Regions from separate parts of the Homo sapiens genome. Here all the other regions are linked to region 3. The links are contacts of gene promoters, found by promoter capture Hi-C in blood cells and fetal thymus (Javierre and others, 2016). All regions are on one chromosome and are shown on one strand. The core of a region is centred on a gene start or on the middle of the fragment in contact, and the rest is flanking DNA. Distances in the headings are between cores, read along the strand shown.

Evidence for each region. Contacts are between HindIII fragments. The CHiCAGO score rates a contact against its expected background, and 5 or more counts as called.
Region 1: a fragment that was not itself captured here is called in contact with the fragment with the promoter of CALHM5 in region 3 in 3 of 17 cell types (total B cells, naive B cells and M0 macrophages); the score reaches 7.7 in total B cells.
Region 2: a contact is called between a fragment that was not itself captured here and the fragment with the promoter of CALHM5 in region 3, in 4 of 17 cell types (naive B cells, total B cells, neutrophils and 1 more). The highest score is 10.4, in naive B cells.

What each region holds. Positions count from the first base shown.
Region 1 is chr6:116,399,087-116,403,645 of GRCh38, reverse strand. It overlaps DSE (dermatan sulfate epimerase), which reads right to left. Exons shown (of 6, transcript NM_013352.4): 2 at 3,980-4,448. The coding sequence starts at 4,395. Among named protein-coding and RNA genes, the nearest start is that of DSE, 30 kb to the right of the region's middle. RefSeq lists enhancers at 3,694-4,194, 4,195-4,559. The HindIII fragment of the contact is 167 bases long and covers 2,900-3,066 here.
Region 2 is chr6:116,418,352-116,422,776 of GRCh38, reverse strand. The region is part of intron 2 of DSE (dermatan sulfate epimerase); the gene reads right to left. Among named protein-coding and RNA genes, the nearest start is that of CALHM6, 41 kb to the left of the region's middle. The HindIII fragment of the contact is 3,535 bases long and covers 1-3,052 here.
Region 3 is chr6:116,509,996-116,514,487 of GRCh38, reverse strand. It overlaps CALHM5 (calcium homeostasis modulator family member 5), which reads right to left and starts at 2,849. Exons shown (of 2, transcript NM_153711.5): 1 at 2,252-2,849. The coding sequence starts at 2,791. The region is part of intron 3 of TRAPPC3L (trafficking protein particle complex subunit 3L); the gene reads left to right. RefSeq lists an enhancer at 2,557-3,138. The HindIII fragment of the contact is 2,544 bases long and covers 2,099-4,492 here.

The DNA of each region.
Region 1 (4,559 bases), core at 1,734-4,233, 110 kb after region 3:
GTGTCCACCTGTGGCCCACTCATGGTGCGTTTTAGATGCCTTTTAGCAACTGTCACATTCCTTGTCCAGTCAATGTCTCCAGTCTTTCCCCCCTCTTTTCTTTCTCAGCTACTTCTAATTTGAAGCACAATATTTTATGCTTCCTTAATCTTCTAGGGGAAAAGTTACAGTAGAACTTTATTGCTGATATTTTTTATTAAATTAAAATTATTAAATTTTATTAATTTAATAAAATTTATTAAATTAAAATTATTATTGCTGATATCTTTGCCATTGTAATTTTTAATAAAGAATATTTTGCCATTATATATTGGATTAAAATAATACCTTTTTAATTTTACTTTTAAAACTAAGTTCAGCACAAGCTCAAATTACTCTGTTACTTTTACTGTAATGAAGAATGTGTGTTCCTTAGCAAAAGGGAGAGAAACGGGGGAGAGCTTCTGAGATAGGATGCGAGCACCTCTGAAAAAGTAGATAAAGCATATAGATTAGTCTCATCATTCTGCGGTGCCCAGTCGTCTGGATACTCAGAGACACACACAATAAAAATGCATGCTGTTATTTTTCAATCACCATTATAATTATAAATCTATGAGATTCCCGTTCTACTTTGTAGGCTATTAGATGGACAGAGTACAATTGAATATTTTCCCTTTAACGTTTCTGCTTCAGAATTCTTAAGTGAATCTATAGAGGTGAACTTTAACCTCTTTATTTACTATTCAAATGAAATGAACCCCATTAATAAATTTGTATGCATGTATATCTCATAGGCACTTCTTTTTAATACCAGACAAATGACACATCATTGTTACTTTCCACTAAACCTTCTTCATTGGTGTTAACATTAGATTCTTGTATACATTTTAAAAAGGGCCCAGGGGAGCATCAATGAACGTTTTAATGGAAAAAGCCAAGGGGAAAATTTTATGAGTTAAACAGATGTTCTAGTTTTGAGAGCAATTAAGATTAGTAAAATCCTAAATGGATACTATTTCCTTGGAGCCTACATATACCAAATTATAAACCAAACAGGGTCTAATTACTAGGTAGGTAAAAGAACAGCATCAATAATTACCATTATTGTCATTATTCTCATTTACTGAGGGCTTACTATGAGACAAGAACTGTGCTAAGTACTTTACATTGATTATTGCACTTAATCTTCCTAGCAACCCTATAAGGTAGATAGGGTTGTTACTGCCACATTATACATCAGGACACTAATGCTCACGCAAATTAAGAAAATTAATCTGGAAAGTTAATTAAGAAAATTAACATAGCTGAAGAGTGAGGGAGCTGGGATTCAAAGGCAGTGTGACTCCAGAGTTGGTGCTTTTCTACCACACTAGGGTGCAGCATGATACAAATGTTTAAGTCATGAATGAAAACTAAGGAAACTCCTTATGAAATGATCCACACACTCAATTCTGAGCAGAGAAAATATCCTTAGCTTAGGCTTTAAGAACCCAATGTTTGTACCCTTTGCCATAGGTAAAAATTATAAAATTACTGGGCTATTTCTTCAACTTTGAATCCCCAGCACCCTAGCACAGTGCATGATACACAGTAGATGCTCAATAAACGTTTGTTGATCAAATGAATCAGTGAATGAACATAACTTAGTAACTGGCTTTCAAAAGAGTAAAAATGCTCTTCAAAGAAAATGGAAAATGCATTCAGCCTGATGAAGCTATTGTAGAAAGTTTTTTTTTTTTTACTTTCATAATATCAATTATTGATCTCTTTTGTAAGTAACAGCTAGTTTTTTGTTTTTGTTTTTTCTGAAATCAAATATAGGTGAATTATATCCTAAGTCAATGACAATACTCATTGTGTACTTCTTGGTACATAGTGAGAATATGATTTAATGGAGCAATTGAAACAGAGGTAGTTGAACTGTAAAATCACTGAACATTGTTTTAAATTATTACAGCACATAATTGTGTTGTAATTGTGTTCAACCACAAATCTAAATGAAAGTTTAAAAGTCTAAGGGTTGGGTGTGGTAGTTTTTAAGAAGTTAAAATTTCTGTGAAGTTATTAAACAACACAACTTAATAATAGTACCTGCCAAAACAAAATGTTCAAGTAGCTCAACTTTCTAAGCCAAGTTCACTTTTGCAACTAGAAACCAGATGTAAAGGTAAATTCTCAAGATTTTACCTTGAAGGTCAAGAGAAAGAAGTCAACTGTTCAGCTCTATTAAGTCAAAAATTGGCTTTTAGTTTACTAGATAATGGCCTAGAGTTATACCTATTTCTATCAATATTGCCATGAATAAAGTACTAGACCCCTAGTAAGTTTCTATACACCTCCAGTGATCAATAAATCTGGACTTGTGGAAACTATGTAAAAATTATAATATTTCTTTCAAGTTATTTATTTCTCTTTTCATAGAAGGAGTCTCATCCTAATGGCAGCATTCATTCATTGGTATTTATATACCCAAATATTTTACATTATAATGAGAAAACTGTACTAGTCTTGTACAATTCTCATGTTACTGTATTGTGCTAAACAATCTCCATCAAAAATGGTATTTCACAGTCCATTACTTTCTTGTGAGATTAAATACACGGTTCTCTACAGGCTCTATCTCTGGAACATTTACATCAATTTCTTAATTTGCCAAAATCTACTTATCTAAAACAAAAAGGACTTTAAAGTACCCTTCTAGATGACAAAGGTTTCTTTCTAAATAATGTAAATATGGTTGCTATTTTAAACTAATTGAACAAATCAATCAGTGAGTTACTGTAGCATTTGATAATGTAATCTGGTAATTCAAATATCAGATAAGTTTTCATACATCTTTTCTTTCTTGGTGTCAAGAATAGAATAAGATCAGTTAATGTCAGTCAAAGTCAGAAACAACTACATACATGGCTAAGCTTTGAAATAAATCAAATAAAAAATTCTTTTCAACCTACAATATTATAAACTTCAAAATGACTACATGTACTTAGCAACAGGCCTAAAATATCAGCTCTGATATGGATTTAATGCCAACTCTTGCATAATACTTTTCATTACAAAATTCCAGAAATTTATCGGAAAGCTTGCAAACCACCATCCTTCACCCCTGTGATATGTTAAGATGTAATTCATCATAGCATTAGGTGCATTCACTGATTTTTTTCTAAGCATTTAAAATGAGCTCTCTCTAGCCCTATGACAAGAGGCAGCTTATGTAATTTTTTAAAAAAATTTCATCAATCTGTAAATTCTTTTATTGCAATTGAACCATAAATGTGTATTTAAAAATTGCATGAGTAAAAACATCTGTAGAATCCCTTGTTTAATCAACTCATCCCATATCTGTTTGGAAGCATATGAAGCATTAATTATAAATTAATCAAATAAATTTAAGCTAATCGAAAAGACAGGAATTTGTTCTCAAATCTTAAACTTCGAAACTAAATTATTATGTAGTTAGAATTCCTCACACAATTACACAATAATGTTGGTTTTCCTACAGGTCTCAGAAATCTGCTGGTTATTGGAGGGGATGTGTTTATAAATTGCCAGTCAGTCCCATCCCATTCACATTTAGTTCCTTACGATCATAAAATGCAAGTAAGTCTTAATTACTTGAAATGTCTTGCTGCAAAATGTTTTAACTACTTGGGATCAATCAAACCTAACACCAGATGATAGTAATATATACATGCTGAATATGGAAGAAAGAATTCTCAGCAATCACGATGATACTCTTTACTCAATTCAGCAAATTATTTTTTCTTTAGATTAGGCTGCATCTAAATATTTTCCTTCTAACTTTAAACATGGAAGTTACTACATCTTTTGAAACTAAGGGCCATTCATAAGACTGGCAACACAAATAACAAATAACACCTCCCCCCACACACATACACAAAGAGGTACATGAAGATCTGGCCACTGAGATGTCATATGGATTTGTTTCTTTCTAATGCAGAGTTACCACAGTAAGAAGAACAAGACAAAAATCTACCAACTAGGCTGCGCTGCCATCCTCTCCATGTAGTCTTTGGCCATGTCTCGGGCTTCAATGTTCTCAGGATACAGCACACAGAACATTGCCAAGGCACCCAAGTTGTTTCCAAAAATTTCATTCCAGCGGGCACTGTAGTCCTTGGGATCCCAGGGAGGGAGGTATTCCAAGGGGCTGGACAGCATCGTGTGCACAGCCTCCGTGAGGCGGGCTGCAATGTGCTCGTGCGAGCTGGCAGCCCTGAGCTGCAGCTCCGCCACTTCTGCCCTGGAGAAGTACAGCATGGGATGGCTGTCGTAGTTGGCATTGGTGAAGGGAATCATAACTTCTGGGTTCTCGTCGGTGATGTAGGCTGACACAAAGCAAAGCAAATATATGAAAAACACACTGGGAGCCCCCCGTGTGTGAGTCCTCATCGTGGCATCAGATCTCCAAATCTCCAAGGCAGCCAAACCATCTTCGAAAGATCCTACGTGAGATAAAAAGGAAAAAAAGTGTCTGTCAGCCAAGGGAACATGGCACAGGTGTGGAAACATATAAGAGGTAGAAACCATATGTGAAAATAAAGCTTATGAATTTA
Region 2 (4,425 bases), core at 36-2,535, 90 kb after region 3:
AACCTTAGCAAGAATCCAAGCAGGGGCACTAAACTGCCCTAGTAGTCCTTGTATGATTTTGCACTGCCATGCACTCAGGTTTTTGTTGTTGTTGTTGTTTAATTTTTAAAGCCAATTTTATTTAAAAATGTCCTTGATGAAGTGGTAAAAGTGATTAATCTTTATAAAATCTCAACTCTTTGAGTATACATCTTTCTAATATCCTATGTGATTAAACGGAGTACCAAAGTACAAGAACGTTACAAACAAAAGAAGTCATGCACTGAGTTGAGAGCTGAGCTAGCTCGGTTTTTTCATGAAACATTTTTACATGACAGAATGATCAACTGACAAATTATAGTTATCTCAATTTGGGTGTTAGCACAGAAATATTCTTGAAAATAAACAAGGAAGGCCTGCCAGTTCAAGGAAAGCTGAAAGCCTTTGTTGCCAATGACAAACTTGGAGCTTTCAACTGGAAATAAGAATTTTGGAAAATTTGCATCCACTACCAAGAGCTTAAGAGCTTACCAATACTTAAAGATTTTTCTGATGAAATCAGTAAGAACATCAACAAACATGATTTTTATATTGTATAATTAAATGTGTCAACATTCGGTAGACTGAAATAACTCAGTGAACACACATGCAAAATAACAAAGGCATGATGTTATAAAACCATGCACCGATAAGACAGCCACTCCTAAGTGTAAAATATGCCAATGGATTTTAATGTAAAAGAGTATGAAGAGTTCATTAACATGGCTTCAGATTCTATACTGAAATTAATTTTTATGGAACCACTATCAGTCAAGTTTTAGTGTAGCGTCAAAGAAGAATATTCACAATTATTTGAAAAGATTATTAAAATACTCCTCCCTTGTCAATCACATATTCCTGTGAGGCTGGATTTTCTTCACATACTTCAACCAAAAAAACACATAGCAACAAATCAAGTGCAGAAGCAGACACATAAGATTTGCAAAGATGTAAAACAACACCTTCCTTCTATTTTTTGTTTTAAAAAAATATAGTTTGGCTGGGTACAGTGGCTTATGCCTGTAATCCTAGTGCTTTAGGAGGCCAAGGTAGGAGGATTGCCTGAGCCCAGGAGTTCCACATAGCAAAACTGTCTGTACACAAAATAATTTTTTAAAAATTAGCTGGGCCTGGTGGCATGCACCTGAAGTCCCAGCTTAGGAGGCTGAGGCAGCAAGATTGCTGGAGCCCAGAAGTTCAAAGCTGCAGTGAGCTATGACTGCACCACTGCACTCCAGGCTGGGTGACACAGTGAGACCCTGTACCTAAAAAAAAAAAAAAAAAAAAAAAAAAAATATATATATATATATATATATGTATATATAGTTATTTTTTCCTAAAATATGTTTATGTTAATATGAAATGAGCTTTGACAATATATAAATATGAGTAAATGAACAAATAAATGTTTCAAACTTCTCAGTTTTAATTTCTAATATGGTAAACTTTGATAGATACAGCCCAAATAAACAAAGCTGTTTGATGTCCTCATTAATTTTTAAGAGTACAAAGTGCTTCCAAGTCCAAAAAGTTTAAAAACTGATACTTTGAATATTTTCAAAGGTGAATTTATATGAAATAAATTAATCTGAACACAGGAAAGAGCTATTGATTTTCTGAGTGTAAGGGTGGAATGTTGGTGGGGAAAGGCATAGAGTTTGGTCATGATGTGCTGTGTCTATGAATTAAGTTGTGATTCTGAAAGGAAGAATGAGCCATAACTATTTTTCCAAAGTTGAGCAGTCTCATTAATCCAAATTTTTGTACCAATTTTAAAGGGATAGACTGCTTCTATTATCATAAATGCTTTTTAAAATATTATGTATGGAGTATAATAGTTGGCAATCGAAGAAGTCTGTATCACTAAAAAGGTGACAGTTTATTTGATTAAATAACCATTAAAAGGAACCCTAAAAACAATGTTGCTATCTATTTTTATTGGTATAGATTTGAACTGCAAGTGATTAAATGCTTCTATTTTTAAAATTTTCATATAGTTTTGATATAGACAGTCTATAGAAAATAACTGCCTGTGAAAAGATTAAAATTTAACATTGCAAGGTTCACAGAATATTATTTAAATTTGTATACTGTTGTCTTAGCCCAGGCTGCCATAACAAAATGCCATAGACTGGGTAGCTTAAACAACAGAAATTTATTTTTTACAAGTTCTGGAAGCTGAAGGTCTGACATCAGGGTGCCCGCATGGTCAGGTTTTGGTGAGAGCTCTGTTCCTGGCTTTTAGAAGGCCGCCGCCATCTTACTGTGTGCTCACCTGGCCTGTCCTAGATGTATGGTGTGGGGATAAGGCAAGCGTGAGAGAGAGTGCACAAGAGTACAAGCTCTCTGGCACCGCTTCTTATCAGGGCACTTATCCTATCATGAGAGCCCCACCTTTAGGACCTCCATCTAAATCTAATTCTCTCCTATAGGCCCTTTTCTCTAAATACTTCCACATAAGGGGTTAGGGCTTCAATATAAATTTTGAGGAGGGTCCCATTCAGTTCATAGCAACTGTCTATTTAATTTACACAAATACTGCTAAAATAAACACTTACAATAAAAAGAAATTAGGTCTTTGAAAACAAAGATGTGCCAAGAGATCACTCATACTTATTTAAATTAATCAACAGTATACAAGAAACAAATACTAGAAACAATAGAACTCATAATTCCCTTTATAATTAATCCTATTTCCTAGTACTTTTCAGAACCTAACAACTTTATAGCAGGCTTTTCCATATGTAGCTATGCTCCAAAGATCACAATTTGATCCACAGTATAGGCAAATCTACATATTTTTTAAAGTGTATTTAAATGAGACTTTATGATTTGTCAGACCTTTCCAACAAAGGAGGATAACTCCAATAAAATGATCCATCTTCTTTTTCTCATTTTCAGAATAACTATAGTTTTACCAACCTATAAAATATTTACTTCGTAAATTCATAAAGTAGAAGATTTGCGTTTAAAATCTGATTTTATACAGTAGATAGTTATGGAACTACAAATTTAAGTTAAAATGAAACAAGCTTTACAAAAATTATAAATTTACATTCAGAACACAACAGTGAACTCCTTAGAAATTGCAAACTCTAAAAGTACCAGGGTAGTGCACCACCAGCTTCCCATTTGCCAGCTTTGCTGCAGCTGTGTCTACTGTACATATGCCACACCTCTGTCCACGTGCACTTGGGCACACCATTAAAATAGGCCAGAATTAGGTCAACTCTATTTTAAAAATGTAAATTATTCTATTCATTCTAAAAGTCTCCTGAACACAGTAACTTGATAGAAAACCATTTAACTTTCAACCAAACACCTTTGTGTGTTTGGAAACAAACTCCAATAAGTTAAGACAGTCATGTATTACCACTCCTTTTAAAAACATGACTAATGCAGTAGTGATTCATCTTTTTTCCCTCCATTTTAAATGTGAAAACTAACCATGAATGTTAAATGTTAGTAATATGTTAAATTTGGTATGGAATTCCTATAAATGTAGCTAAAGGGAAGTGGATTTCTCACCTCTGAGGCCTCATCTGTAAAGCACATTGGGTCTTGGCAGACATCTGCCAAGAGGACCAGATTAAGCCTGAAAGATAGAGACTTGATCTAGGAGGCTCTGAGTGGGTAGTCAGCAGTCCAAGGGGAATGTTCAGCTAATCTCTGGCCTGGCTTGGCGTCCATATTCCAAGTGTTTGATCAGGTGGCTAAAGGTTAGCACTGGCATTGTGAAGCAAAATGCACAGGGAGGGAAAGGAGAGGGGAGTGTACTTCATATTAATTAAGCACATGTTATGTGCCCAAGCCTCTAAGTACATTGTGTCATTTCATCTTCTCAACTCAACATTAGGTATTCCGTCCCCATTTTATAGGTTGTGAAAAAGCAATTTGGATAGGAGATTACTTGTTCAGAGCCACACAGTTAAACAGTGAAGCTGAGAATGGAATCCAGAATTATCTGAATTATCTGAATCTAGAATGGTTTTGCCTTCTTAGTGAGGGGAAGAACGGCGCTTTCAAAGAATGTCACCAAGTTTGCAATAAGAACTGAGCCAGAACATGCCAGAGTCAGTGGCTCTACCAAAAGCTAGGCAGAAGGGTCCAAGGGTTCTAAGCCTTGCCATTTTCATGACAGCAAGACAGAGCAAGGCATGAGATCTGAGAAAAGGGGCACACATTAGAAGAAGAGATACTGCCATTCTGTGCTCATGTGGTTGCTCAGGGCCCACCCAAGGAACATGAGACACCAATCATGTAGATTTCCTGAACAACTCTTTCCCTCCCTGATGAGCCTGCACACCTAATGTACTACTCTAAGGTAGAGTTGGTCCAGGGGATGGTGGTTCTGGTTTGCATCTTCAGAACCTTGGGCCCCTTAAGGTAGTAACAAACACTCTCTTC
Region 3 (4,492 bases), core at 1,600-4,099:
AATATTATATGCTGCTATTCTTCAAATATATATACACTTATGTAAATGTGTTACTGAACTCATAATATCTTTCTGTACTTATAATTAATGAGTGAGGCACAACTACCATCAAGTGAAAGTCCCTGAATGGATTGTGGTTGGCTACCTTATATGTTCCTCCTTCCTTCATCGTCTGTCTTCCTCTTTTTCCACAGCTGAGGCTTCTGTACGCCATCTCATCTCAGTACCTGAGCCAGTTCCAGCTGAATTATAAACTATTCCATCAGCTTCAGGTCCCCTTCCCCCTTTCACATGACGTTTGCATTGACCGATGCTTTCCCTCAATTCACAGTACCCAGAGTCAAACTAGAGCTTGGTGGATGCTTCCATACCAGCCCTCAAAAGTGTCTTATTTTGCATATGTCCTCCCCCAAACCATGGCAGTTTTCCTCATTGACTTGGAACAAATACTGTGTACCAGAAGCTTTATGCCCATTTGTATCTATCATCTCTAAATCTTCCGACAACTCTCCAAAGTAAGTGATATTACCACTAACTATGAGAAAACTGGGACTCAAAGAGGTCGAACCACTAGTTCTAGGTCACATAGCTGGTGATTGGTAGCATCAGCATACAAACCCAACGCCAGACAATTCCAAGACTGAGCTCTTTCCACTACTCCATTCTATCTTCCTTAAGAATAGAGAGTCATCCAGCTAGATTTTTTATCTGCCCCACCCATGGATGAATGTTCTTTTCCGCCTCCAGGCACATGTACACCTATTGTTGGTCTGGACTATATGCTGCCTCCTGCCTATCTGAACCTCTGTAGTCAGCACCTGCTATTGATACAAGTTCTCTTGCCCACATTCCTTATGCATCTTCCCACAGGAATCAGCCCCAGGTCCTTCTCATTCTGATGAAGAATCAGCAGGTCAGTGTGCTCAGCCTAAGCTATGACATGATGTGCAAGATTTCCTTGTACCTGTGTTTAGAGAGGAGAAGCTCACACAATGATAAGTGTTTGGGCCTGCCACTGACTGAATGGAGCCTGGTGACTGAGGACATACACCATAAATCAATCATTCTGTCATAAGAGTTGTAAGTTATACCCTTCTTCAATAAAAGACACAAGACATTTGGGAGCCTGATATGTTTTATCTAAGATGTGCTTTATGCATTAAAGAAAAGATTTTGTTTTGGAGTATTTTTTGACTTATCAATTTATGAAGAGTATGACTTTACTGCCAACCAGCTTTGGAGTGTATGATTTTAAAAACAGATTTTGCCTTGATTTGTTGTTACCAAGGCAAATCCTTGTCGAAAAAGTAAAATAATGCTATTTCTGTGCCTTTATTCTGAAACAGATAGCATTCCTGACAATTTGTGGATCTGCTTATCAACTCTTACCACTTGTTTTGCTTTTGGGAATGCAATTCTTACTACCTATAAATGGGAAGTTAGTCCTTCCTAAGGCTGTACATCTGGATTTGTGTTCATGTGCCTGGAGGAATGACAGGCTACTTCCCTGCATCAATTAGGTAAAGATATGATTTCCTTCTGTTAAATAAAACAATGCCCAAATCTTGAGCTTCTGAAGTAATTAAGAACCCCTTTAGCTGTACAGCACAAAGAGTATAAAACATAATCTCCCTAGAGAGTACAGTCACTTTTTCACAGAAGGCTATTTAAAAACTGCTGATTCCTACCATACAAGGAAAATTCTTCTCAATCTTGACAATATTTATACACAGAGATAGCAGTTGCCAGAAATCATTCAAGAGAATCTCCACACTAATTATATTACATGCAACTTTGAAAAGTAATAACTCATTTCATTCAGCTACATTTTAATAGATGAATAATACATGTGTGTGTTTGAGAAAACAACTTGAATGTAAATAATTGATAGAAGGCAGTAATTTCTAATTACAGCTCTGCCATTAACACTCAATTTATGATTTAGTGTTAGGCATTATTTATTTACAGACCCAGAGAGACTGTTTTAAAGTACTTAAGTATTTATATGTGGACAATCCAGTGGATATTTTCTTTTCAGAACCGGAAAAGAGATAATCCAGTCAGCAACTTTATTGAGCCACCCAGCCTTTCAAAAGCTTTTCCTGAGATAGTCTCAATGCTGCATCATGTTTCAGTTTCCATTTAGTTTCAAAATATTCTGACAGGACACAGACAGCCCTGGCTGAAAGGAGCACAGAGAGAATACTTCGAGCTCATGCTGAGAGAAAAAGGCGAGTTTGTCTTTTCTTACCTGAGACTGGGCCTGAAGGGAGAGTTTCAGTTCTTCATTGACGGTAGGTAGCATGCTAGTTTTGCCACAAGATACTTTGTGAAGTTCTTCCCAGCACTCTTTGGGCTTACCCTTGCAAATCAGTTCCAGGAGTCCTGAACTTCTCGTCCCGCTCATGGCACATTCATAGAAAGTTCCATTGAGCAGAGCCACAGAAAGCCACATCACTGGAGCCACCAATGAGCTCAGAGTGATCTGGCCGAGGACGTAGAAGAAACGGCAGCTGTGGCCTCTGGGAAAGATTTTCCTGGGATTCACACAGCAGCCTGTGAAGAGTCTCCACGACCTATTGTTCAGAAAGAATCCCAGGATCAGTAACACCCAGGCAGGAGCAAAGAGGAAAACCAGCCCATAGGTCATATTCTCAGTGCTGCAGGGGCACTTAAAAGCCACAACAGAAAAGAGACGCTCACTTCCCACGGTCAGCAGAGCCATGAAGCTGTAGCCAATAACAGTTTTCTGATTAAGGAAGAATTTTAAAATGCCCTGAAAAGCATCCATGTTGGAGATGCACAGAGGGAAAATGCTGTGCCTTTGTTATTGGCAGAGCAGCTGTGGCAGTGGCCGAGGGTGGAGCTCTTTCTTCATCAGAAACAACAGTCCTTCTCAGACTGAATTGAGCCAGATAAGGAAACAATGTCATTCCTTAGGAATGAATATTTCTCAACATGTTTAGATAATGCCTCCTACTGGTGGAAATTGGGCTGTGATACTGCAGCCTAAATGCTGAGAATAAATTCAAAGTGCACGGGCTCCATTTTAACCTTCTTTCCATGTGGTTTGGATTGAAAATCAGAAAAGAAATTCTCACTCATACAAATAATAGTCTAGGAATTTTCCAGTGTAAGGAATCAACATTAACAGAAAGAGGTTTCAGCCGACAAATCAAATCTCCAAACCTAGAATTTTATGAATGTTTTTCTCTTCCTATGACTTGAGATTTGGAAGACAGGGATTTGCTGTCTTTTTTCATATATATAAAAACATATGAAAATTATATATATATATATATATCAATAGCTTTTGGAGCACAAGTGGGTTTTGGTTACATGGATGAAATATACATATAAATATACATATATATATATATACATATATATATGAGATTTTAGTGCACCCATCACCGGATATGTATGTGTACCCAATATGTATTTTTTTATCCCTCACCCCCTTCCCACTCTCCCTCTTTCTGAGTCTCCAAAGTCCATTATACCACTCCATATGCCTTTACGTACCCATAGCTTAATTTCCACTTATAAGTGAGAACTACAGTTTTTGGTTTTCTATTTCCGAGTTACTTCGCTTGGAATAACGCCTCTAGCTCCATCAAGTTGCTGCAAAAGACATTATTTCATTCTTTTTTATGACTGAGTAGTATTCCATGGTATATATACACCACAGTTTCTTTATCTATTCATCAGTTGATGGGTACTTAGATTGGTTTCATATCTTTGCAATTGTGAATTGTGTTGCAATAAATATACATGTGCAGGTGTTTTTTTTTAATATATAATGACTTCTTTTTCTTTGGATAGATACCCAGTAGTGGGATTGCTGGACTGAATAGTAGATCTACTTTTAGTACTTAAAGTTCTTTCTTTAAGAATGAAAGAAAGGTGCCGTGGTTCATGTCTGTAATCCTAGCATTTTGGGAGGTCGAGGCAGGTGGATTGCTTGAGCCAAGGAGTACGAGACCAGCCTAGGCAACATGGTGAATCTCCCTCTCTACAAAAAAATACCAAAAAAAAATTAGCCAGGCTCGGTGGCATGCACCTGTAGTCCCAGCTACTCAGGAGGCAGAGATGGGAGGATCGCTTGAGCCCAGGAGGCTGAGGTTGTGGTGAGCCAAATCATGCCACTGCATTCCAGTCTGGGTGACAGAGCAAGACCCTGTCTCATAAATAAATACATAGAAGGAAAGAAAGAAATCTCCATACTGTTTTTTATAGAGGTTGTACTAATTTACATTCCTACCAGCATTCTACAAGCATTCTGTTTTCACAAAATTCATACCAATATCTATTGTTATTGCCTTTTTAGTAATAGCCATTATTACTGGAATAAGGTGGTATCTCATTGTGGTTTTAGTTTACATTTCCCTAATGATTAGTATGTTGAGCATTTTTTCATATGTTTGTTGTCCATTTGTATATCTTCTTTTGAGAAATGTCTATTGATGTCATTTGCTCACTTTTTGATGGG